4 separate regions of the Homo sapiens genome follow, and all the other regions are linked to region 1. The links are contacts of gene promoters, found by promoter capture Hi-C in human tissues and cell types (Jung and others, 2019). All regions are on one chromosome and are shown on one strand. The core of a region is centred on a gene start or on the middle of the fragment in contact, and the rest is flanking DNA. Distances in the headings are between cores, read along the strand shown. Region 1 holds the start of FGF6 (fibroblast growth factor 6). Region 2 overlaps FERRY3 (FERRY endosomal RAB5 effector complex subunit 3). Region 3 has its middle 6.7 kb from the start of FGF23. Region 4 has its middle 24 kb from the start of FGF23.

The links. Contacts are between HindIII fragments. The study calls those that stand out against the background at their distance.
Region 2: a contact is called between a fragment that was not itself captured here and the fragment with the promoter of FGF6 in region 1, in 3 of the 25 tissues and cell types used here (lymphoblastoid cells, mesendoderm cells and neural progenitor cells).
Region 3: a fragment that was not itself captured here is called in contact with the fragment with the promoter of FGF6 in region 1 in 5 of the 25 tissues and cell types used here (H1 embryonic stem cells, bladder, heart right ventricle and 2 more).
Region 4: a fragment that was not itself captured here is called in contact with the fragment with the promoter of FGF6 in region 1 in 1 of the 25 tissues and cell types used here (spleen).

What each region holds. Positions count from the first base shown.
Region 1 is chr12:4,444,387-4,450,643 of GRCh38, reverse strand. FGF6 (fibroblast growth factor 6) reads left to right here and starts at 4,829. Exons shown (of 3, transcript NM_020996.3): 1 at 4,829-5,419. The coding sequence starts at 5,074. RefSeq lists an enhancer at 1-140. The HindIII fragment of the contact is 16,147 bases long and covers 1-6,257 here.
Region 2 is chr12:4,483,528-4,489,437 of GRCh38, reverse strand. It overlaps FERRY3 (FERRY endosomal RAB5 effector complex subunit 3), which reads left to right. Exons shown (of 14, transcript NM_020374.4): 14 at 1-1,703. Among named protein-coding and RNA genes, the nearest start is that of FGF6, 41 kb to the right of the region's middle. RefSeq lists an enhancer at 3,001-3,295. The HindIII fragment of the contact is 3,885 bases long and covers 1,584-5,468 here.
Region 3 is chr12:4,383,173-4,389,650 of GRCh38, reverse strand. No RefSeq gene overlaps it. Among named protein-coding and RNA genes, the nearest start is that of FGF23, 6.7 kb to the right of the region's middle. RefSeq lists a silencer at 1,274-1,568. The HindIII fragment of the contact is 5,845 bases long and covers 1,671-6,478 here.
Region 4 is chr12:4,400,192-4,406,408 of GRCh38, reverse strand. No RefSeq gene overlaps it. Among named protein-coding and RNA genes, the nearest start is that of FGF23, 24 kb to the right of the region's middle. The HindIII fragment of the contact is 3,512 bases long and covers 1,514-5,025 here.

The DNA of each region.
Region 1 (6,257 bases), core at 3,580-6,079:
AAGAGCATGAGTGAGACAGAGAAGAAAGACAGCGCTAGGAGATAGGAAGTCATGCTGAGAGACACAGCCACATGGGGCTCAGATTGAAGGGATAGATCAAGAAGCACTTTAACGCAAGAAGATGACTGCTAGTGTGGAGAGGAGAATCTTTCTCCCAGAAAACTCTGCAAATACTTGGTGACCAACCAGACCACAAAGCTGCGTGTTCAGGGGCTCCTTCCCTCCCCATTGTAGGGGTCTCTGGGAGTGGGGCAGGGTCTCCAGTCTGAACTCAAGCCAGGATTCAGACACATATAGACAATGCAGATAGGCCGGCCCCAGCAGAAGTGTATTTGTCTGAGGGGTTGAGGGGCCTCCAGAAAAATAATCCACATGGAAGGAAATGGGAATCCCACCTGATCAGCTTAACCCATAACAAGACTGAGTCCTTTGCAGGGCAAGGAGTCTGAAAAGAACTTCAAATCAGCAGATTGCCAGGGCATGAGTAGTACTGGCCAGGTATTTCCTTAATAGGTATAACATGAAGACGGGGACTAAGGTATTCTTCCTGGCTTTGAAACAGAACATAAAGCAGTTCTGGCTCCTTGAGGGCTTCAGGTGCTGAGCTATAGTGAGAAAGGGAACACCCCCGGGCTGCCCAGCAGGAGGTGGAAAGGCTGGAGAACAGGGAGATCCACGCAGGTGCCTGGCAATGTGCCCAGGCAGAAGCAGTCACATGCTCGTGAACATATGTGAGACATGCTCTGAAACTGCAGAAATATCTTGGGGGTGGTTTGTAGTGGGGTGAAGTTCCACATGAGTTGGAAGAAGCAAGAACTAGGGAAATGTGGATTATAACTGTTAATGGCTCCCACTGTGTAAGTGGGTGAGGCCTGGGAAAAGTTGAGTTCTACTAGGAAAGTACAAAGTTTAGGTTTCCCCAGGGAATAGCTAGCAAGATAATGGCTGCCTTGTCTTTGCGGAAGTCCAACCTGGACACTGTTGATCAGTTGAAACTGTTTCTCTTGAATTCTCCCTCATGTAGCAAGTTTATGAGCTGCAAATGTCCCTCTTTGCTCAGGCCTAGGGCAGGAATCCTTCCTCGATCCTCATCTCTACACATGTCCATCTCATGCCGATTAAATCCTGTGAGCAATCTCTACCACTAAAAAAACCAGGGATAGGTGCAGAGCTGCCTGTCTGAGCAAGATGGGGAGGAGATACAGGGAGGCTTCAAGGCCGCTGTGCCAAGCTCACACAAAGACAGACTTTGAGACAAAAGAGACAAAGACACTAAGCACAAACAGCTATTTTGTTTTCCACCTTATCATTTTCCACATTTTCCAAATTATCTATAGAAAAAGGCAAATGCTAGTTTTTCAAAACCAAATGTAAAAAGTACAAGTAAGCACAGCTTTTCACAATCTACGTGGATGAGGCTCATCTGAGTTTTATGTGCTTTCCCTTTTGGTCACCCATCAGGCATTTGATCCTGATTATGTAACACACAGCAGTCACAGAGAGCAACCACCTGATGTGACGGAGGGAGTTCTGCCATGCAGATGATGCGGAAGGTTGGTGTGGCTAAGCATTGCCAAATCTGACAAATCTGTATTTTGTGGTATCCCCCTTGGGGACAAGGACCCTGTTGTGGGAGGAGATAGACATTAACGTATTTTCCCACTCACCTCCACTGGATCTTGGCTCATCCAGCGAGAGTGATTGACAATCCCCAAAGGCTGTTGGCCAACTATTTGCAAGAGGGGTCCATGGAGAGAGGCCTCTTCCACCTGTTACTCTTTTCTCTATCACTTCACATCCATAGGGGTCCCTAAGCCCCAAGAGAAGGGTCAAGTGCAAATCTGGTAAGCCAAGAAGACCTAGCAGTTGTCAACCTAATTAGCCTTCAGGAAAAATATATGGCTATATGAGCACAGTAAAGTTGCTATAGAGACAGGCAGGGGAGGTACATTCAGAACAGGGCCTCATCGCATCACCCGATAAAAATAAGACCCAGGCTTTTTAATAGCATGAATTACTTAAGTTTTAAATTTAACAGGGGACGACACCAAGGCTCTCACTGGTTTTCAGAACATTTGAGGAATCTGGGCTGCCTGCTTCTGCATATGTTAGCAGCCATCACAACATATGCTGTGGCGGATGGCAATGAAGAACTGGAAGCCCACGTGTCTCTCCCACACCGTGAGATGAGAGATGGTCTTTCTCACTTTGGGTTTGTCCTCTTTAATTGGGTGAGAGATTTTCAATGTGTTTCAGGGAAATTTCTGGGAAATAGCTATACTGCGCTCTGCACTGGCCAGTTGTATGTATTATTGCTAGTCACTGTAACAACCTTAGGAAGTAATGATATCATTTTGCAGATGACAAAATAAGCTCAGAGAGGTCCAGAACTTTCCTAAGGTCACACAGCTACTAAATGGTGGAGTTGAGATTCAAATCCAGGTGTCCCCATTCCAAAGCCCATTGCTTTATGAGACATCAACCAGAACCTCTGCACAGAGAGGAATCCAGGAAGAGATGAATCTAAGGAGCGTTACCATTTTTATTGGTATATGACATGGACCTTGTTATAGTTTAATCTCTCTCCTAAGGCAGTCCCAAAGTGGATGGGTTCCAAGAAATTCCACAGAGATTCTGAGCTCTGCTGGTGAGCACCTCTCCGATTATCCAAGGCAAGTGTTAACTTCAGACTGACTTCTCCTTACCATCCAACATGTTTCTGGACTGTCTCTTCCCTAAGTGAGGACCACCAGCATAATTAACACAAGATTCCAAACAACATCACTGAGAAAGTGTCCCCACTGCTCTTGCATCCATGAAAGCTTAACTATATGAAACCCAGCTGGAAATCCAAAGTGAAGTTCTTTTTGTTGACAACTTTGTCTTCGGATTATTCATGAACCTTTTACTTTGCAGAAGGATTTTTAAAAACAGTTTTCCAACAAAGGCCTACATAGTAGACTCAATCTGAGCCTATAAGGCATCATCTTTCCTCATGGGAAATGGCAGTGCTGGTGATGATGAGATTGGGTATGGGACAACGGCAGTGGAAGGGAGAGGAAGCCAATGGGGAAGTCAGGGGGCCGTGGTGACAGTAGGAACAAGTGGTGCCTATGTCCCTCCCCATTCAGTTTACCAGCTGAGGGTAAAGACAGACATCTGGGCTTCACAGGATTTCAGAAGGCATGTCTAGGGCAACACTAAACACATGGCTTGACAGAAATTTGAACCAAAGCATCGAACCCAGTGAACGAGGCAGAAGGGCAGAGAGAAGGCAGGTAGAAGCCACAGACCAGAGGCTGGGACCCAGGGCACAGCAGAAGGTTTAGAATCAGAGGGAAGGCGGTGGTGCCTCAGTAGAGTCCTTGGGCCATGGAACTCACCCCAGGAGCTTTTCCAGGCTGCCTGCAGCCTGCAATGTGGGTGTAGAGTGTGGCTAAGGGAGCTGCCTGCTGGGACCAGCTCTACTGCTCAGGACACTCAAATCCATCTGTATGCCACTGTCATCACCCCACACATACTCTCTCCAATCCCGGCAAAATCAGTGCTAATGTCTCACCAACAGATTAAGGCCTGGATTGAAGTACAAGAAACAGGATTTTTAACTCAAGTTAATTCAATTCCCCAGCGACCCTTGTTAACTTATTCACCCTCAGAGACGTATTAATAGTTCTGTCTTATATTGTATAGAAATTTGTGCAGTGAGTTTTCTGGTAGCTTTACATTTTTTTTCTCACTTCAGTTAGACATGTAATCTATTTAAAAGTAATATGGGAATAAGATAAATCAGTGTAGGAATAACTTCCTGGCAGAAATATTTTTACTAGTTTCTGAGTGTAATATCAGCCCAGCAAAAGTTATCTGCAAATATAGAAGTTCTCATGTACATCAAAGACACTCAAGTTTTTTTTAAGAAATAAATCATTTTATGCTACTGAAATAACTCTGTGATGTGCTATTGGCATTTAAGGAGCTAAACAGACTCTATGGGCCAGCCAACTTCTACTGCAAGCATTAGACATGCACAGGCTTTAGACTCAGGCACACCTTAGAAGTTCTGGCTTTGCTACTTATTAGCTATGGTAACTCGGGCAGGTCATTTATCCTCTCTAAGCCTCAACTTCCTCATCTGTGAAATGGGAATAATATCAGTCACATGCCAGGGATAAATCCAGGGAGAATGGCCAGGGGGCTGTGTCAAAGGCCAGACACAACTTCCACCCCAGGTGAATGTCGGGACCAGGACAGTGAGCAGGCAAACCTTGCCCTTGCCCTCCTTCCCTCCACAATCTTAAAGCTCCTTGAACAACCCCCATCCCCACCCCCTGAGAATGTCTGTGCCCTCCTGCTGAAAGGGTTTGGCCTTTCAGTGTTCCCCTCCACCATGAGCTGTTTCCATGAAAAGATCTCAAGGGTGACTTGAGGCTACGGTCATCACTACCACAAGCCTTTTCCCATCCCTGCCTCTACCTATTGCCCTCTAAATAAGGAAGCCAGCGCTGCCAGGCAAAGAACTTCTGCCCAATATGGGTCCTGGGTGGCCTCTCGCCTCTCTCTTTCCCTGGGCCCCCAGCCAGCTCCCCCCTCCCCCAGAGATGCTCCCTGCTCACTTCATTCCTGCCTCATAGTTGGAATGACAGTGGCTCCCAGAACCCCTGGGGAGTGTGGAGGGTGATGGGGGTCTGGGGAGGCAGCCAGGCCCAAGAGCAGGTTAATGTTACAGCCCTGGATAAGTGAGCTGGGCGGGTTGACGTCAGGGCGATGATGGGTGGAGGGGAGGGCCGGGCTGCTGAAGCAACTATAAAGATAGGTCAAATCAAATATCATCAACTAGGGACGGAGCAAGCGGGCGAGCTAGAGAGCGTCCCCGAGCCATGGTCTCTACCGGCCGCGGCTCAGCCTGGGTCCCTCTGCTCTCAACCCGAGTGCCCGATGGAGGCTTTGGTTTCATGTCAGCAGCCTTCATCTGCCTTCCAAAAATAAGCCCCTGCCGCCATGCCGGAGGGAGAAAAACAAGAAGGGCGGTATTTTTAGGGCCATTAATTCTGACCACGTGCCTGAGAGGCAAGGTGGATGGCCCTGGGACAGAAACTGTTCATCACTATGTCCCGGGGAGCAGGACGTCTGCAGGGCACGCTGTGGGCTCTCGTCTTCCTAGGCATCCTAGTGGGCATGGTGGTGCCCTCGCCTGCAGGCACCCGTGCCAACAACACGCTGCTGGACTCGAGGGGCTGGGGCACCCTGCTGTCCAGGTCTCGCGCCGGGCTAGCTGGAGAGATTGCCGGGGTGAACTGGGAAAGTGGCTATTTGGTGGGGATCAAGCGGCAGCGGAGGCTCTACTGCAACGTGGGCATCGGCTTTCACCTCCAGGTGCTCCCCGACGGCCGGATCAGCGGGACCCACGAGGAGAACCCCTACAGTGAGTGCCAGCTGCAGCCAGTCGGGACGCTTGGGGGTTTGGGCTCATGCAGGGCTAAAAGGTGAAGGGGCCCTGCTCTAGCGGACAGGATGCACGATAAAGGGGGCAGAAATGCTGCTCACCACTTAGATGATTCCACGTGACCCTGCCTGGGTGCAAGCTCAATATACTGCGGTCCAAGCATCCTGGTGTTCTTTGCCATCGCCTTGGTTAGATCCTCAGTGGCACTAACTATTTCAGCATTACTGGCCCATCTGATGCCTTGTAAGACCATTAGGAACCATTAGTCTGGGAAGCCCCCAAGGCCTGGGTAGGGAGAATCAGTTAGTATACTTGGATCAAATTTGACACAAGCTCATTTTTATTCAGCTTCTTTCTTGGAGAAGGAAGGGAAATTCAATTGCAAAATGTCCAACTGAAGCACATCCTTCTTTTTATTTCAGCGGCTCCCTCTGTCCCCAGGTTCTTATCCTGCAAGCTGCCTGCAAGCTGCCAGCTTGCTGTATGGTTAGTCTCCTATCCAAGAAAGGATGGGGGCTGCAGGATCCAAGAAAGCCATCAGCTATGGTGTGGCTGCTGTGTTTTCAAGATTAAGTGGGTTGAGATTTGTTGAAACATGTAGAGTACACATTAAGAAGAAGAAGAAGAATCAGAATTTATTTTTTTACTCAAGTCAAGGACCTCAAGTAATTATGTCACTGAAAGCCCAGATTCAAAGCTCATCTTAAACAGATAGCTAAGTGGTCACTGCAGCCCCTAACTCTGCTATCAGAACCTTCCCTTGCAGAACTGGATTTCTAACAGCACAATGGCAGCACTCGATGAGTCCAGCAGCCAG
Region 2 (5,910 bases), core at 2,277-4,776, 40 kb before region 1:
CTTAATTAAACATACAAACAAAATTTTCCTTTTACTTTCTTTGCCAAAACAAAATGTAAAAGCACTGAAATATACATTGCAAGTACAAATTTCCTGTGAAAATCTTTTTATAGAAACACAAATGTATAAGACAAATGTGCTTGTTCTTTTAAATTCTCCTGTTTCAGAATCTCTTTTTAATCTACTCCTAAGGATGTACAAGTTAGAGTCAGAAGACGTTTTGGATTTTTTCCCTCTCTCTCATCCTCCCGCTGTGCCCTTGCACTTGCATATTAATAACATTTCATGGACTGGGAAATAGTGTTCTTTTTTGCAAGCTTGATGTCAAGTTAGTCTAAACCAGCACCTGGCAGTATTTTAGTGCTCATCAACATTGTGACAATCACACAAGGAAGATCATTTCTACATTTCTGTCCTCCCTGCGTTCTCAGCTTGCTTAACCATTCCTCTACCTCTTGCATTTTTTTGCGGATAAATGTATCCCCATTTCTGCTTCTCTGTTTCCCCTCCTTTTCCATTGTTTTTCCTTATGGTACTACTTTCTCAGGTGCTACATATCATATATTTGTCCCATCTATAACATATTTAAATGCTATAAGTAGTAACTCCATTAAACAAAGGCATTTACAAAAGCACACAGGTGTTTAGAAAAGCAATAGTTTCATCAATTCCAAGTTATGTGGATATTGTAACTGGCCACAAGAATGAAATGGAGGGCATTTGGTGTCATAAGATGGCATGTCTTGATGACAAGAAACAAAACGCCCTTCATTAATATGCCTCAGTGTAATAACTATTATAGAAACTGTTGGCAAGCAGAGTGCTTTCCTATAACAGAATGTGTCTTAATTTTCTACTCGAGGGAAAGGTTTGTCCAGGTAACAACACTAAAGACAACCCTAAGAACACCCACTCCAGCAGTATGTCCATTAGACACTAAAACTCTCCAAATTATTTGTCAGGGAGCCTGGCGATTCTGCCAAGAAGGCAGGTGTTTTGCCCTTAGAGCCTATACAGTTCTCTTGGAGAAATTGTCTTTCAGGCACCACTGTTAATCACTGAGACTGATTCTAATGCAAAGCAGGGAAGACAGAGGCAGAAACCAGGAGAGTGGTAGATCAGTGCAGCCCAGATATCGGAATGGAGGAGCAAAGTTTCATTCACGGATGTTTGTTGAATGCTGCTGCCCAACTCTTCCTTTGTCACCTCTAGGCTATTCCACTAAGTTACTTATAAACTGGTGGCTTTAACTGAGGGCTGTGTAAAGGTACTATTTGGCATGTGAAGTCAGGATAAATTTATCGAATGTCCGTTTTCCACATGCAACTGTGTTACAGAAGTAGTAAAATTGGAAGAATCATGTTTATGGTGTTACCACTGATGGAAACACACAAACACCAAGCTAATAATAAATATATAACTTAAAAAGCTAATTATATGCACTGAAATGGTGGGAATTTTAGTGATGCAGTAATTGAGGAGTCTGGAGTTTTGTATTTGGACCAAGAATTATGAGATGAGGATCTTTTTCTGAGTGTTCTAAAGGGCTTCTTGAGGGGGAGTGGTTTAAAGCACTTCATGAATGATGTGAAGAAGGTACCTTGGGCTGAGACAGCATTCTAGGTACAGATGGCACTCTGTTCAACCAACTGTGGATGGAAAATATTCTGAAAAAAAATACAATAAAAATTTTAAAAATACAATATAACATCTGTTTACATGGCATTTACATTGTATTTGGTATAAGTAATGTATAGACGGATTAAGTATATGGGAGGCTGTGTGTAGGTTGTATGCAATTACTACACCACTTTATATGAGACTGGAGCATCCAGGGATATTGATATTGGCAGGGGGTCTGGAACCAGTCTCCTGCAGATACCAAGGGACAACTGAGTAAGGCGCAGATAGGAGCAGAAGCAGAATGGAGGCAGTGGTAAATGGCCAGTAAGTTGAGAGGAGCTGACCACGAGAGTCTTTGAGGATGGGGAGATTAGCACAAACATTGACATTGGTGAGGATTGTGAGTTAGAAGTTTTCTATTTGTATAAACAGTTACATATTCCTAAATGGCCCTCAAGGCCTTAAGAGTGTGCTTTGGAAATCAGGCAGAGGCACTGAACCTGAGGTCTCCATTCTGTGCTGCTCTTTCCCCCCCTTCCCCCATTTCTGCTCTCGAAGCACCACACAAGCAAAGCCATTGATCTAGAAGTGTGGCACCAGCTGTTTCTCAGCATGACAGTGTGACCAGAATGGAAGAAATGCATGAAAAAGAATTTCAGCGGGAAGAAACTGAGCTTGCCTGGGAGTTGGCAGATCTCTTATTGGCACAGTACACACCATCATTTGTGTTACTTCAGTTGGATCCTGGCTAATTCTCACAAGAAGAAAACATGTTTCACAAAAGAAAGATGAAATCACAGAAACATTTCTTTTCTAGAGGCTCTAAGGGAGAATTCACAGAACTGTAGAAAGAACCCACTAAAGTTAGAGACGAGCCTCAGGCCTATTTTTCAGTTTCTTTTTATTTTCTATTTTTCAGTTTCTAGGTGAAAATGGCTGCTTTTCTGTGACTTAAGTTTTTCCATTTATATGAAGTGGGACTGATTTGCTCAGTAGGAGTAATAGAAGTATAAAAATCATAAATGTGAAGCAAAAAGAATACAACACCTATTTGGAAAAAGTACCATGTTTTCAGGACCTTTTAAATCAGTGATTTTCTATCCTTTGTTCAAGAATCTTTCATTATCCATCACATCTTTGCCCGAAATGTTTTGAGAACATAAACAATTGGAATTATTTGAGCAATCTTTTTTACTAAATCAAAGACAGGTATGTCTGGAGAGAAGCTTCTGATTAGCAAATGGTACATAGTATTATCACCTACAATTATCACTGTGCATTCTCATGCCTAGTATTACCACATAAAATGCATAGAATTATCATTGTGTAATTCCAGGCAAACTTGCAAAAACAAAGCCTTGGTGTTTGACTTAACCTGTGGGACATCATCCAAGTGAAATGTATTTTTTGAGAGATTCTTTATAGCTCAATATCTTAAAGGATCACTAATTCCAGGAACCCCAAGCTGGGAACCACAACCTTGGGCAGAAATATTTACATGAGAATATGTTACAAAGGGACGGCAGAGATCAAGAAAACATAAATAGCAGATTGACCCTGAGAATCTCGTTCAATAAACAGCCAGTGTTTACTGAGTTTCTTCTATACACAAAGGCATAGTGCAAGCAAGATTCAGCCCCTAGAAGGTTATACAAAGGCAATGGGACTTGTAAAGACAGAAGACTTGGCGGGCTTTTCTGTAATCTGTGATGCTGATGATCTCTAATAACTAAAATAAAATTTCAGCTAAAGCAGGGGAAAGGAGGAGTAACCTCCTGAGGTGCCTGCAGGACCAATATGTGCTTATAATGTCCTATTTAAATATACACAGATAAAATTACCATATACTTCAGTTCTCTCTTGCGGTTCATTTCCTGTTTTCCTACAGGAAAATGGTTCTGGATATGTCCAAATCGAAGACATATGAGGCTTTCTCATATATCCAAATCTAAGGCTGGCTGAACTTCATACTATATACAGTCAATCCTCATTAGTTGAAGATACCATATTTATGCAATCACCTATTCACTAAAATTTATTTGTAACTCCGAAATTGTTAAAGACATTTACAAAAGCATACAGTCATTTACAAAGACAATAGATTCATCACCCCAAAGTCACGTAGATGTTGTAACTGGCCAATAGAATAAAAAGCAGGGCCTTTGGCAGCACTTTCAGGTTATCTGTGGACATGTTCAGAGCACCAAAATGTTTGAGTCGCCCAACACATATGTTCCCAGCTCAGATGGAGCAAGGTGATGCTCTGCTGCCTTATTTTAGCTTTCATAGTGCAAATAAATGTCCCTTTCATGGGTCTGTTTAGCACCATGTTTTTTTTTCCATTGCTTTGTGGTGATTTTGTTGTTCAAAATGGTCCAAGTGTAGTGCTCAAGTGCTATCTGGTGTTCCCAAGTGCAAGAAGGTTGTGATGTCCCTGATGAAGACAACGCATGTCTAGATAAGCTCTGTCCAGGTAGGCAATGTAGTGCTGTTGGTCAAAAGTTCAATGATAATGAATCAGTGATGGGTATTAAATAAGGTGTCTTTCAACAGTAGCACACATAAAACAAGATTATATCTTGATGGGCTGATGAGACTGTTGTGGTCAGAGCCTTGCAGGAATTTAACTCTCTGTCTCCCTTGGGAGCAATGATTTAGTATTCACTAATTCAGGGTTCACAGCATCTTTATCGAACATAACTACTGTGAACTGTGAGAGTCGACTGTATGTGTCTTCTCTCACCGGCAAGAGGGTGCAAGAGCTATTCGTAGATATTTTTGGTGCATAGAGAATGAAACCTGGAACACGTTACCAAAGAAGCAAACAGATCCTTTCTTGACATGTTCAGGAATTAAGCAGAAACTGTACTGTCATCTGTCATACGTTAGGTGTGACATCTGCAGGAGGAGAATGTACTGATGCATGTCTCCTCCTTTCTCCCTAGCCTTCTCTCCTTTTCTTTCTTTATAATAAATTCTCATTTCCTGGTATCAGCTCATCTGTGCTCAAAAGTCTCTACTCTGAGCAACAATATAACATCAGAGATCAGGAACATAGTCTCTAAAGTTAAGCCTGATTCAAATGCTGACTCCTCAGTTTATTTGCTGTGGCTTGTTACATCGGGCATATTACCTAATCCCGTTAAGCATGTTTCCTCATCTGTAAGCTAGGGAAAATTAATAATAGTATCTACCTCATTGAGTGGTTGGAAGGATTGCATAAGAAGGGCACATTACCTGGCATATAGTCATCCTATAAATATTTGCTGCTATTATCCTTCCTTCCTTCATTCCTTCCTGTCTCCTCCTTCCTTTCTTCCTGTCTGACCTTTCTCCTTCTTCCCTTTCTTCCTTTCACTAGATAGAAGGGATGCTAAGTCACTTAAGACACCGTGTCCTCAAGAAGCTTACAGCCCAATTGAGTTGGTAGGAAAACACACAGTAACCACAGTACCAGCTAGCATATACTAGAGGTATACAGTCAGTGCAGAAAAAAGCATACACAGAGTGCTATGGAAGTCAAAATAGAAACATTAGCATACGTTGGGCCAAGAGAGATGTTGAGCCTCTTGAAAGCAGACTGCTTATCCCTGCCTTTCTCTGGCACTGAGTGAGTATCCTCTGAACCCTCATTATTCTCAACAGGTGAAGCACAAATCCTCCTGGCAGATGGGAAGAATGCCACCTGTGCCAGCAATGGCAACAACTTCAGATACAAAGGATCTGAATGTCAGGAGGAAGTCACAGGGTAGGTGACTAACCCTGTATTTGAGTAGAGCAGGAAGGACTATCATATTTTTTATATGAAGTGAATCTAGATTTTAGAAATAACAATAGTATGAAGTACTTATGGAATTTAAAGTCTCCTACCCACATAGCAGCTGAATGAACAACTTGCCCCTGTAATGCTTTCCTGGTTCAACTCTTAGGACTCTCTTGTCAGCAAGCTGATCATGTGTTTGCTGTCTTGCAGATGAGCAACTGAGGCAAGAGGATTAGATGCTAGGAAGGTGTAGAGGAGATGTCCTGGGATGAGAGAAGAGGATCAGAACTCAGAAATCACTAATCTACTTAGTCTACTTTATGTGTGTGGTGATGGGGATGGGGGAGGGGCACTAGGATAAATACTTTTTCTTTTTAAAAATCATCTTGGCTGTCTTGGCTAGTGTAGCACATTGACTCTGCTATCTGAATTTCCTTTTATCGTGAAATACTTCAAAGATAAAAAGAAGTTAGAGAAATTATAACAAATAACCATGTACCTACTACTTGTTTTTGTTCAAGCTT
Region 3 (6,478 bases), core at 3,344-5,843, 61 kb after region 1:
AAAGTAATGGGAGAATTAAAAATAATTAATTAAAAGTAATGGCAAAAACCGCAATTACTTTTGCACCGACCTCATAAAAACAGGCAAGGATGATGATCGCCAGGGTTCCCAATGTCCAACTCTCAGATTCTGTTTTCATGGCTCATACAAAGAGGAGGATGGGGAGAAGAGACTCCAGGGTCACTCCGGTTTGGGTGCATTGGTAGGAAAGGAAGGAGAAGAAACAGAGGGAGGGGATACAAGTCTCCCAAGTTCAGAAAACTGGTGGGGTTCTGATTTGAAAAGGCCCAAAGAGGAGACATGTGGGGGGGCCCTGGGTGGGGACAGCGAGGCTGGGGCTCTTGGTTCCTCCAGTAAGCACCATAAATGCCCTAGTCTTGCCAGCCAAAAGGAGCTGTGGCTTCACAATGACTTGTAGGAAGAACAGCTTGGGGGGAAGTGCCTGTCCAAGTGGACTATTTCTATGAGACAACCATTATAAAAATATTTTGAAAAGCTAAAAAGCACCATTCTAATATAAAGTGAAAATACATTTTTCTTGGAGGGTAAAGAGTGATGGAGACAAAGAAAGGAGAGTTAAGGAGACTCCTGGAAGTAAGAATATTTGTAGGGTTTCAGGAGGGAGGAAACAAATGAACAAATCTTCCACTGAGAAACCTTCCTTCAAAGCTGTCCCCCTCTTCCCTGGCTTAGCTCTAAGTAGAACAGTCATAACCCTGTTCTTATCACCCAAAGTGAACCTTTTGTAAAATCACTCACACAGGCTTGGCCTCCCCCACCCGTGGGACACATGTCTTATCTCCCACAGGCTGTAGCAGTGGAGGCCAGGAGAGGGTTTCCAGGAAAAAGAGTGTGTTGGCGGAAAAGAGGAGGGGGTGAGGGGGTGAGGGGTTGAGAGGGAAGGAAAAGGGAGTTGAGGCTGCAGCTATTGATCAATGGCCTGGACTTCAATGGCCTTTGCTCTCAAGTTCTGCTATAACCTTCAGTTTTCTAGGATTCCCCAGCTGAGGGCACCTGAGGTGCTTTAACCTCTTTTTGTCCTGGCAAAATGAGCTTCTGGTTATGGGCACCAAAGTTGAGAGAGCAAGACCATGGATTTCATAATATTACAGAAGCCATGTGTATTTCCTATAGGGAAGTAGGGTGAAGGTTCTACTTACATATTTAGATTTGCTATTGAGGAAATCTGTTGCGCTATTATAGGTACCTGTAATGTTACATTATAAAAATATATAATCTAATAATATATATTAGATTAAAGGAATATGCCTTCCTTAAGTTTATCCCTAATCCAGTGTGGACATTTTAAGCAAAGCAGAGAGAGAGAAACAAATCTCCCAGCAGGGAATGTAAACACTTCCAGTCATCATGGACAAGGTGGGTAACTCCCGTGTAGATGATCAAGTGTAGCAGGTGATAAAGCAAACAGTTTGGGGAAGCTGGATGATGAGACAGCATCCTACCTCCAGACTGCAGCAGCTGAGAGGAGCTTCACAGATGATTTCATCCACATGTCCCACCTCCCCAATTCAAAGCTGGGAGAGCAAGTGCAAGAGGGAGTCACTTGCCTAAGGCTGCATATACAGATCTAAAAAAAAAAAACTTTTTGCCATTACTTTTAATGACTTATTTTTAATTTTTCCATTAGTTTTAATTATATAAAATCAATTAATTAAAAGGGTGCGGTGGCACACACCTGTAATCCCAGCACTCTGGGAGGCTGAGGCGGGTAGATCATGTGGAGGAGCTAACCCACGTGACATGGATGGGTGAGAAATTTTCTTTTGTCTTGTTTTAAAGGACTGAAAGGTAACTGGCTGTGCACAGTGAAATATATGCTGTTTCAGCACATCTCACGGATCTGATCCTGGAATGAATAATTCCAGGCAGCGATGAAATGTTGAACACCTATTGATCAAACACCATTTTGCTCATTTTGCTCACCATTTTGCTGAATTTTGCTCTCATTTTTTTGATAGACTTTATTTTTCAGAGCAGTTACTGGTTTACAGAAAAGGTAAGCATTGGGAGATATACCTAATGCTAGATGACGAGTTAGTGGGTGCAGCGCACCAGCATGGCACATGTATACATATGTAACTAACCTGCACAATGTGCACATGTACCCTAAAACTTAAAGTATAATAATAAAAAATAAATAAATAAATAAAATAAAAAAAAGATAAATAAAATACAAAAAAAAAAAAAGAAAAGTTAAGCAGAAAGTGTGAGGTCCCATATATTCCTTCTCCCTACTCTGCACACAATTTCCCCTATTAACATCTTGCATCAGTGTGGTGCATTTGTTATCACTGATGAAACACTATTGAAGCATTATTATTAACTAACGTCCACCGTTTGCATTAGGGTCTACTCTTTGTGTCGTACAGTTCTACGGGTTTTGACAAATGCATAGTGCCATGTACCCACAGCATCGTACAGAAGCGTGCCACTGCTCCAAACATCCCTGTGCCCCAGTCCTTGACTTTGTGTGCCCTCCCTGTGCTCAGTTCTCCTGTTGTGCAGCTGTCTCAGGCAGTGGACGAAGTGACAACTAACTACCCATGAATGACAGCCTATAGTGTATCAGCTGTATTCAGCTACAGCCCCTAACATCTTACAGGGCCACACTCACTGTGCACAGCACTTGCCAGTGATGCTCTTGCCTGTAATTATGTCATTGGCTAACGTAATTAGCTCCTGGCTGGCTTCTCTCATCTGCACCTGCTGTTGATTAGCCCTTTGGTTTCTCTGTTTCTGCTGGTTTCCAGGCATTCCCCCCAACTTTTTTTTCAACTTTTATTTTAGAATCGGGGGTTCGTGTGCAAGTTTGTTACAAGGTCATATTATGTGATGCTGAGGTCTGGGGAATGATTAAACCCATCACCCACGTAGTGAGCATAGTACTCAATAGGTAGTTTTTCAGGCCTTTCCTCCCTCCTACCCTCCCCTACTAGTAGTTCCCAGTGTCTGTTGTTCCCATCTCTATGTCCATGCATACCCAATGTCTAGCTCCCACTTATAAGTGAGAACATGTGGTCTTTGGTTTTCTGTTTCTGCATTAGTTTGCTTAGGATAATGGCCTCCAGCTGCATCCATGATGCTGCAACGGACATGAATTCATTCTTTTTTATGCAGCCATTCTTTTTGCATGGTTTTTGCATCAGTTTCTTTTCAGTTACCCTCTCTCTTCTAATGTTCTTCAGAATTCTGATACTCAGCATAGCTGTTTTATACTTTTGAACGACTTTAAACTTCTAAATAAATAAACACTCAGATATGCATATTTAAATACCCTCAAACATTTCCTATTCTTATAAAAACTTTATGCTCTGTATTAAGTTCAAAATAGGTTGCAAATTTTATATTACACGTTTGAAAATCGTAGCTTATTTTCCAAAGGCTTCGGTAAATAGCACTTCTATGCCCATCCTTGTCACCTTGTCATCAGCAGTCATTACCAGCTATCAGTGGCCATATTTATAAATTAACAAGTGTGGTCTTTATGAGATCACTGCAAGTGTGGAGATTTATTGGCCATAGTGGCAGAAGTGAAAACTATCACAGCTGAACCGTGGAGAAGCACCGCTACATCTTCTGTGGATTCAAACCCCTTTCCAAGCCTTGATGTCCCCCCGCTGCTGGAATTCCAGGCTTCCTTGCCCATTGGAGAAGGCTGCCCTGAAGACAAGCCCTCCCGTGGGCCTTTATTTTGGAAAGGCTGCCATGACAAAAATAAGCTGGAAATTTTGTCTTGGGGAGGAGAAATTGAACATGTCATTTGGAGGGAAAGAAGGGAACTGGAGACTGATTCTATGGGAGGTATTGGTTCTAGACTAAAAGGGGGTAAGTTCTTGATGTGGCAGAGAACTGCGGTAACCCCAGCCACCAGTGCCATCCCATGCAGGGCCATTATTATATGTATATGTGTGTATGTATCTGTTTATATGTATGTATGCACATGTATATAATGGGTGTGTATGTGTATATACACATACATGTAAACATAAAGTCCTGTGGCCTTGGGAACCACCACAAAAGCCTCTGGGGCAGAGCTTGGAAGGAAATGAAGCTTTCAGAAGAGCTGACCACTTTCAAATACAATGGAATGGAATAATTTAAAAGAATGAGGTAAAGATATGCATACTGACCTGGAAAGGTGGTCAAAATAGACTTCAGCGGACAAAGTGGGTATATATTATATACGGTATGCCCTCAATTTTGTCTTTTAAAAGTGCGTATTTTTCTGGCTGATAGATGCAAAATTTTTTTTAAATTTTAAAATAAAAGTGCATATTTAAATATATATACTTATATATAATATACACTTTAGTATTAATATATAATGTTAAATATGTACCTATTTAGAAATACATAAATATAAATATATACATATTTTATTAAATATTTATTAATACATTATATATTTTATTAACATGTATTATTGGCAATATATTAATGTATTTTATTATATTAAATATAATATATATTTTATATATATGCCCTAAAGCTATAATTTGTCTTTGATAACATTTTACCTCTAGAGGTTACAAACTATATTGTATATTCACTTTCTACTTCATACATTTCTGCATTGATCTACTTTTTAATAAAAACAGATTTTTTAAAGTCATGTTTTTTTTCTCTCTTTTCTTTAAATTCCTACGATAACAGAATGTGTGTATCAGGAGCCAGGATGCTCTTGGGAAAGTCGTCCCCGACACCCCCCAGACCTGCCCATAGGACTGTTTTGAGCCTCAGAAGAGACAATAGATATGAGTGTACTTTATGGGCTGTGAAGTGCTAGACAAATACAAAGAATATTCTGCCTAGTAGATTGCAAATTCCCTGAAGATCAGGACTGTACCTTTTCATTCTCAGACTTCTCTAAAGATTTTCTACAAGGTAGTAGCCATATAACAGGCTTTCCATAAAAAGTTATGTGTTGATTGCTTGGATGCATTAAAGCAAGAGAGAATCAGATTGGCTATAGGGAAGCACATTTTTGCTGTCAAGATGACACTGGGATGACATTTTCAGATGAGATACAGGAATGGCACCTCTCCAGAGAACTTCAAGAAGCCAAAAAAAAAAAATTTTTGTTCTAGATGGCTTAGATATCCATCTCCCTGAACGCTGGAGGTCTGGACGACATGTAATGCTCTGAGAAAGCAAGAGGGCAGGGACACCGTTACTGAAATGGTGGAGACAGACTCAGGAGGAGTGAAGGGACAGGGAGCAGAGGCCTGCCAGGTCCTTCCAGGATCTCAAAAAGAAAAGAAGGCTGCAAGCCACCGTGAGATCACCTTCTCTCCTATCTCCCAGCTTTTTTTTTTACCTTGATTCCTCTGACATTTTTTCATCATAGCTAAGGACAATGAAGTTGATGTTATTGTTTGAAAATTATTGCCCAGTCTTTACTTTGAGTGAACATGATCTGGGTGAGAATCTTCTTCAGTACCTTCTCAGAGCAGATGCTGATAAAAAGAAGTCAGGAGATGAAGGAAAGTAATGAACTTGCAGGAATACTTTTTTTTTTTTTTTTGACAGGGTCTTATTCTGTCACCCAGGATGGAGTGCAGTGGTGCAATCTCAGCTCACTGCAACCTCTGCCTCCCAGGTTCGAGCAATTCTCCTGCCTCAGCCTCTCGAGCAGCACGCTCGAGAGGCACGCACTCATGCTCGGCTAATTTTTGTATTTTTGTAGAGACAGGGTTTCACCATGTTGCCCAGGCTGATCTCAAATTCCTGACCTCAGGTGATCTGCCCGCCTCAGCCTCCCAAAGTGCTGGGATTACAGGCATGAGCCACTGCGCCCAGCCGGAATACAGATTCTTATAGGCCCTTATCTATACTAAGAGCCTTGATTCTATGAGCGTAAATGCAGGGACTAGACTTGATGCTTCCACACAGCTCCCGGGGCAAATTCTCTTAATGCCAGAGAAGTGGGTTCCAAACCAGGCTGGAGACAACAGGTTTCCCTGCCTGCCATGGGACCAGCCTATCTGCTGCATTCAGGTAGCTACCTGGGAACCAAGGACAGTGACGTCCAAACAGCACAAACCCAGGGCCTCCTCCCTGGGCTTCCTGTTCACAGCTGGTATCTATCTGTGTTTCTCTTTGGGCTCCTAAGGTCACACTGGTTCCCAGACCCTTGGACCTGAACTGTGACGGAGGAGTGCCCTCTAGGTGCAAAGGACAGGAACCGACATGTCCTGGCCTCTCCCTTCTCTTACCCACTGAAGCTTCAGAGGAGACCATGCACTGGACTCAAGGACAGGGTACTTGTCAGCACGAGGTACTGATTTAGCATTCAGTACTAAATTCCCTAGAAAGGCCCATTTACATCTTGACCTGCAGTTAGGATGGACATCCTAGAAGGGAACGGAAAGTTGAGCCTGCCACTGAAGAGGGCCTTAGTCTCTGTGTACTATTTCCAGTGCTTGATGTGTGGTTGGCGCTCAAAGCCTGTTTATTG
Region 4 (6,217 bases), core at 2,020-4,519, 43 kb after region 1:
CCCATTAGACCTTGAATATTCAGTTTTTGTTCTGGCTCCCAAATCCCTTGTACTGGCAGCCTAGAACCCAGCAGAGCGACTGGGTCAAGGGAGGTGGCTGCACTCCACAGGAACAATGAGCACATGTTCTAGATCTTCCAGGACAGTCCCAATCTTAAATACTCTGTCCACTGTCCCCACAAGTGTGTCCATACAGTTCAATGCCTCTTGATTTTTGTGTTTCCAGTGTTGTCACCAGAAATACAGGACATCTCCACAGCAACATATTATATTATACATAGCCAAAATATTGTGTACCTATTGGTCTATTAAAAATGCTCTTATTAAAAAAACAAAATCCCTCACCAGCTTTAAATTCTTTTTAGTATTTTGAAATAAGCTGACACTAAACATAAATTTTCTAAATACTAATGAAGAACTACCAGGAAATGAACCTAGAATGTGCCTTAAAGTCAAGCTTATAGAGCTCAGGCTTTCGGTTCTACCAGAGCTCATTAGCTCTTAGGCCTTGGGGTTCCTGATCTTGTCCTATTCCACATTCCGTCTGAGACCATCACACGAGAGCCTCAAGAGCCACAACAATTCTGCTGCCACCTTTCTGAGTCCCGAAGTCCCAGCACCTGGGTGTCTCCATGGGAACAATGTCATCCTACAGCCCATCTCCTGCCATCTACCAAATGTAGAGGAGTGTTTGGGATGGTCTCATTTAAAATACCGTACATGCTGGGTGGGACTTTTCCTGTTGTCCTTGAATTGTGGCTAATCCAGAGGTACAAGCAAGGAGCTCCAAGAACCTTCACACTTGAAAGAAAGCTTTTAATGAGTTGGGGCTTACACCCCCTGTATTAGTCCGTTTTCATGCTGCTGATAAAGACATACCCGAGACTGGGTAATTCATACAGGAAAAAGGATTTAATGGACTTACATTTCCATGTGGCTGAGGAGGCCTCACAATCACGGTGGAAGGCAAGGAGGAGCAAGTCACATCTTACATGGATGGCAGCAGGCAAAGAAAGAGCTTGTGCAAGGAAAACCCCTTTTTTTAGAACCATCAGATCTCATGAGACTTATTCACTGTCGCAAGAACAGCATGGGAAAGACCTACCCCCATGATTCAATTATCTCCCACTGGGTCCCTCCCACAACATGTGAGAATTATGGGAGCTACAAGATGACATTTGGGTGGGGACACAGAGCCAAACCATATCATTCTGCCCCTGGCCCATCCTAAATCTCATATCTTCACATTTCAAAACGAATCACGCCTTCCCAACAGTCCCTCAAAGTCTTAACTCATTTCAGCATTAACTCAAAAGTCCAGAGTCCAAAGTCTCATCTGAGACAAGGCGAGTCCCTTCTGCTCATGAGCCTGTAAAATCAAAAAGCAAGTTAGTTACTTCCCAGATACAATGGGGGTACAGGCATTAGGTAAATACAGCTGTTCCGAATGGGAGAAATTGGCCAAAACAAAGGGGATACAGGCTCCATGCAAGTCTGAAATCCAGTAGGGCAGTGAAATCTTTTTTTTTTTTTGAGACAGAGTCTCACTCTGTCGCCCAGGCTGGAGTGCAGTGGTGTGATCTCAGCTCACTGCAAGCTCCGCCTCCCAGGTTCATGCCATTCTTCTGCCTCAGCCTCCTGAGTAGCTGGAACTATAGGCACCCACCACCATGCCCAGCTCATTTTATATATATATATATTTTTTTAGTGGAGCCAGGATGGTCTTGATCTCCAGGCAGTGAAATCTTAAACCTCCAAAATGATCTCCTTTGACTCCATAGTCTAACATCCAGATCACACTGATGCAAGAGGTGGGCTCCCATGGCCTTGGGCAGCTCTGCCCCTGTGGTTTTGCAGGGTATAGCCTCCCTCCTGGCTGCTTTCATGAGCTGGTGTTGTGTTTCTGCAGCTTTTCCAGGCACATGGTGCAAGCTGTCAGTGGATGTACCATTCTGGGATCTGAAATGGTGGCCCTCTTCTCACAGCTCCACTGGGCAGCATCCCAGTGGGGACTCTGTGTGGGGACCCCACATTTCCTTTCCACACTGCCCTAGCAGAGGTTCTCCATGAGAGCCACCCCCTACAGCAAACTTCTGCCTGGACACCCAGGTGTTTCCTAATACATCTTCTGAAATCTAGGCAGAGGTTCCCAAACCTCAATTCTTGACTTCTGTATACTTGCAGGCTTAACACCATGTGGAAGCTGCTAAAGCTTGAGGCTTGCACCCTCTAAAGCCATGGCCCAAGCTCTATGTTGGATCCTTTCAGCCATGGCTGGGATGCAGGGCACCAAGTCCCTAGGCTGTACACTGCACAAAGACCCTGGGCCCAGCCCTTGAAACCACTTTTTTCTCCTAGGCCTCTGGACCTGTGACAGGAGGGGCTGCCTTCAGAGACCTCTGACATGCCCTGGAGACTTTTCCCCATTGTCCTGGGGATTAACATTTGGCTCCTTGTTACTTATGCAAATTTCTGTAGCCAGCTTGAATTTCTCCTCAGAAAATGAGTTTTTCTTTTCTATCACATTGTCAGGCTGCAAATTTTCTGAACTTTTATGCTCTGCTTCCCTTATAAAACTAAATGCCTTTAACAGCACCCAAGTTACCTCTTGAATGCTTTGCTGCTTAGAAATTTCTTTCTAAGTCGTCTCTCTCAAGTTCAAAGTTCCACAAATGTGGGGGACACAAAGCCAAACCATATCCCCACCACCACCACCAGCCCTCATTAAAGGCTTTAAAGAGGCAGCCAGAGCAGTCCCACTCTTGGTCTCCCCTCCCATCAATGTGGACTAAAAGTCAACTGGGAAGGAAGGGTGTGGTGGCCACCAGCACTTTAGGGAAGGCCAGGTGCACAGAGCGGGGCCAGAGGAGGATCTGGTAGCTCCTGAGGCTTCAAGGGGGAGAGCTCACAGGTCAGTGAGGAGTAGGAGGTGTGGGACAGCAGCCTGCTGGAAGATGGGACATCCCACCAGAGAAGCACTCGCTGGCAAGTGCTGCTGGTTGGGCCAAAAGAATACTTGATTTTTCCTAGGAAATTTTTAGGAGATTTCTCAGGGACAGGATGGTGGAGTGAACCTGAACACCATGGCAAGAACCACAACCACTCCACGGAGACCATCTTGCTACAGAGGGAGTCCACTACCAACACATAGGCCCACAGAAAGCTGGAGGAGGGCCAGGGACACCTGGCCACCATCTACATGGGGTAGACACACAAGGAGACCCCTGCCTCCAGGAGCTGAGCGGGCAGCATGGGAGAAGCAGACCCACCCCAACCCCTCAAGCTGCGGGTCCAGCCTGTGCTTGCAGGTGGGAGTGGGAGTGGCATGTTTAATTGGATAGGAGATCAAAGTTCTACACTTTTATTTTTCTATCCGTGTTTGCCATCTTGATGGGGTTTTCTCCCCACTGCAACCCGTCCTGTTGACAAACCAACCAAAGAGAAACCTTTTCCTGACATCTCTTCAGGAGAGGTGAGGCAGCTGACATTTCCCAAAGAAACTTTTCTAAGTCTTCAGGTGAAACAACAAGGAAGTAATGACAAAAAATAGAAATGGCATAAAGAAAGTGACTTTTCCAAAAGGAAAGTTTCTGTTTCCACGAATCTCAGGGGAGGCAGTGAAGAAAGAGCTCTACTCTTTTCCTCAGTCCGCCAGCCCTGGGGTTTCTGCACCTGCCAATACCCCTGGACTCTGCTGCCCCTCTTTCCCCACAGCTTCTTGGCTGTCCCCATACATTTTCAGGTGTTCTCTTTTTGGTTCTTAGGACCCTGTGTCCCCGTCTCTTGATAAAGGCAGGCCCTTCACAGCATCCTGTCCCCTCTCAGACCGCAAGGACCCTCGAAAGGAAAGCCCTTGAGCTCCCGTTTCACTGGAGATGGAGGTGGAGGGTTCTCCACAGAGTCCCCAGGCAGTGGAGGTTGACGCTACCATGAGCGAATGAGTGCTCCAGCCCTGAAGCAGCTCTCAAGGCTCCAGGGCCAGGGCAACTGAGCATCACTTTTTGGACAGAGGATTGGATCCCAAAGAAGGCTTCTGTGAAGCAGAGTAAAGAGACTAAATGGTGCTCAAATGGGTGGCTCTTCTGCTCCATGTGTCATCAGATGGGATCATTTACTTACTTGCATTTAGCTGGTAGCTGAAAGGTCCAAGAAGGTGTCACATGTCTGGCACTGTGGCTAGCTTGGATTTCCTCATGGCATGGTGGTCTCAGGCCATTTAGACTGTTTATGTGACAGCTGGCTCCCAAGAGGGAGCATTCCAAGTGTAAGAAAGCAGAAGCCGCATCTCTCTTGAGGCTAAGCTTTGGGAGTTAGGCGATGCCACTTAAGCCATAATCTCCCGACCAGAACAAGTCATAGGCCAATCCAGATTTGAGGGAGCAGAGATAGCCTTTGTCTCTTAACAGGAAGAACAGTGAAGAAAAAAAAACTATATATATATATATATATAATTTTTTTTTTTTTTTTTTGAGACTGAGTCTCGTTCTGTTGCCCAGGCTGGCATGCAGTGGTGTGTCTTAGCTCACTGCAACCTCCGCCTCCTAGGTTCAAGTGATTCTCCTGCCTGGCTCAGCATCCAGAGTAGCTAGGAATACAGGCGTGTGCCACCATGCCTGGGTAATTTTTGTATTTTCGATAGAAATGGACTTTCACCATGTTGGCCAGACTGGTCTCAAATTCCTGACCTCAGGTGATCCACCCACCTCGGCCTCCCAAAGTACTGGGATTACAGGTGTGAGCCACTGCACCTGGCCTGAACCAGATCTACTCCACCACAATAGTGTTACCCTGGTTTTTAAAAAAGGTTTTATACCTTGAAATCCAGAAGACAGAGTAACCCATGACACTAGAAACTTTACCAAATCTCAGAAGGGAAAGGAGAGTTAAATAATCCAATAGAAATCCAATAGATTCTGCAGAGCTTTCTTCAGCCTCATCTCTAAACCCAGAGCAAACGGAAGGTGGGCATGGAGCTGCCCAGGCACGAATAAGATACAAAGAAATAGCATGGAAAGTATGCAAAAATACTACAGAGGAAAGAAAGAAGGAAGGAAGGGAAAGAAGGGAAGGAAGGAAGGGAAAGAAGGGAAAGGAGGGAAGGAAGGAAGGAAGGAATAGAGGGAGTGAGAGAGGAAGAGAAAAAGCAAAGTAAAAGCAAAGAAGGAATCACAGCATGCAAAAAACAAAGAACCCATTCTGGAAGAAGACATAATCCAAGGAAAAGACGGAAATTCTTCACAAGTGTTTTACAATAGAAAATAAATCTTTAAAGGAACATGAATTTGATTAAAATGAAAACTCAAAGACAAGATGATAAAACAATAGAATAAGAACAAAAGAGAGAAAGACAGAGACAGAGAGGCAGAGAGAGAACCATAGAGGGGCGGAGCGGGGGAGAGAGGAGGAGAGGAAAATTATAGTGCTAAGGAAAGAAATAAGGAGGCAAAGCAATAAATAAAGAAGAAGCAGAACAATACACTTCATGTGAATGTATTTGCCAGTAGAAAGGCTTTAGCTAGTGCCAGTGGATGCAGAAGACAAAGACAAGAACTAAAAGCAATTAGAGAAAAAAACAATAAATCTAAAGGATGGTGAGAGACCACACAACATAAGGTATTTCACGTCCCTGAGGTAAAGAAGCCAAGACATGGACTAGAAACATTAAAAGTATATAATACAAGAATTTTCCTGGAAATACAGAAAGAATCAAATCTACACATACTGGTTTCACGAAAAACTAACATGGAAGCTTCAACACCAAGATATATCCAGTTAATGTACTGAACTTCAAGAATTCCTCAAGCATCTTGAAGATGATATAAAATGTTAAATTAATTACTATAACTCAAGTATTAAAAAAAAAAAGAGAACAGTGCCTGGCACTTAGTAAGGCCTTCCTAAAAAACAAACAAAAGAACAAAAGCTACGCACAAAAGCAATTAATGTACAAGGAGCAAAACCAAGCCGACCTCAGACTTCCAAAAGCAATATTTAATGTCAGAAAACAATGTAGTGATATTTACAAAGTTTCGAGGAAAAGAAAATGGTACCCAAAATTATAACCATCAAGAAGTCATTTAACACAAAGGCAAAAAGAAAAAATAATTTCTAAGTTCTTTCTCTAAAAAGATAGCACCCAGGAATCACACTTGGAGGAAAAATACCTACTTGATTATAAGATTTTATATATTAAACTATAAATCCAAATAAAAATTCA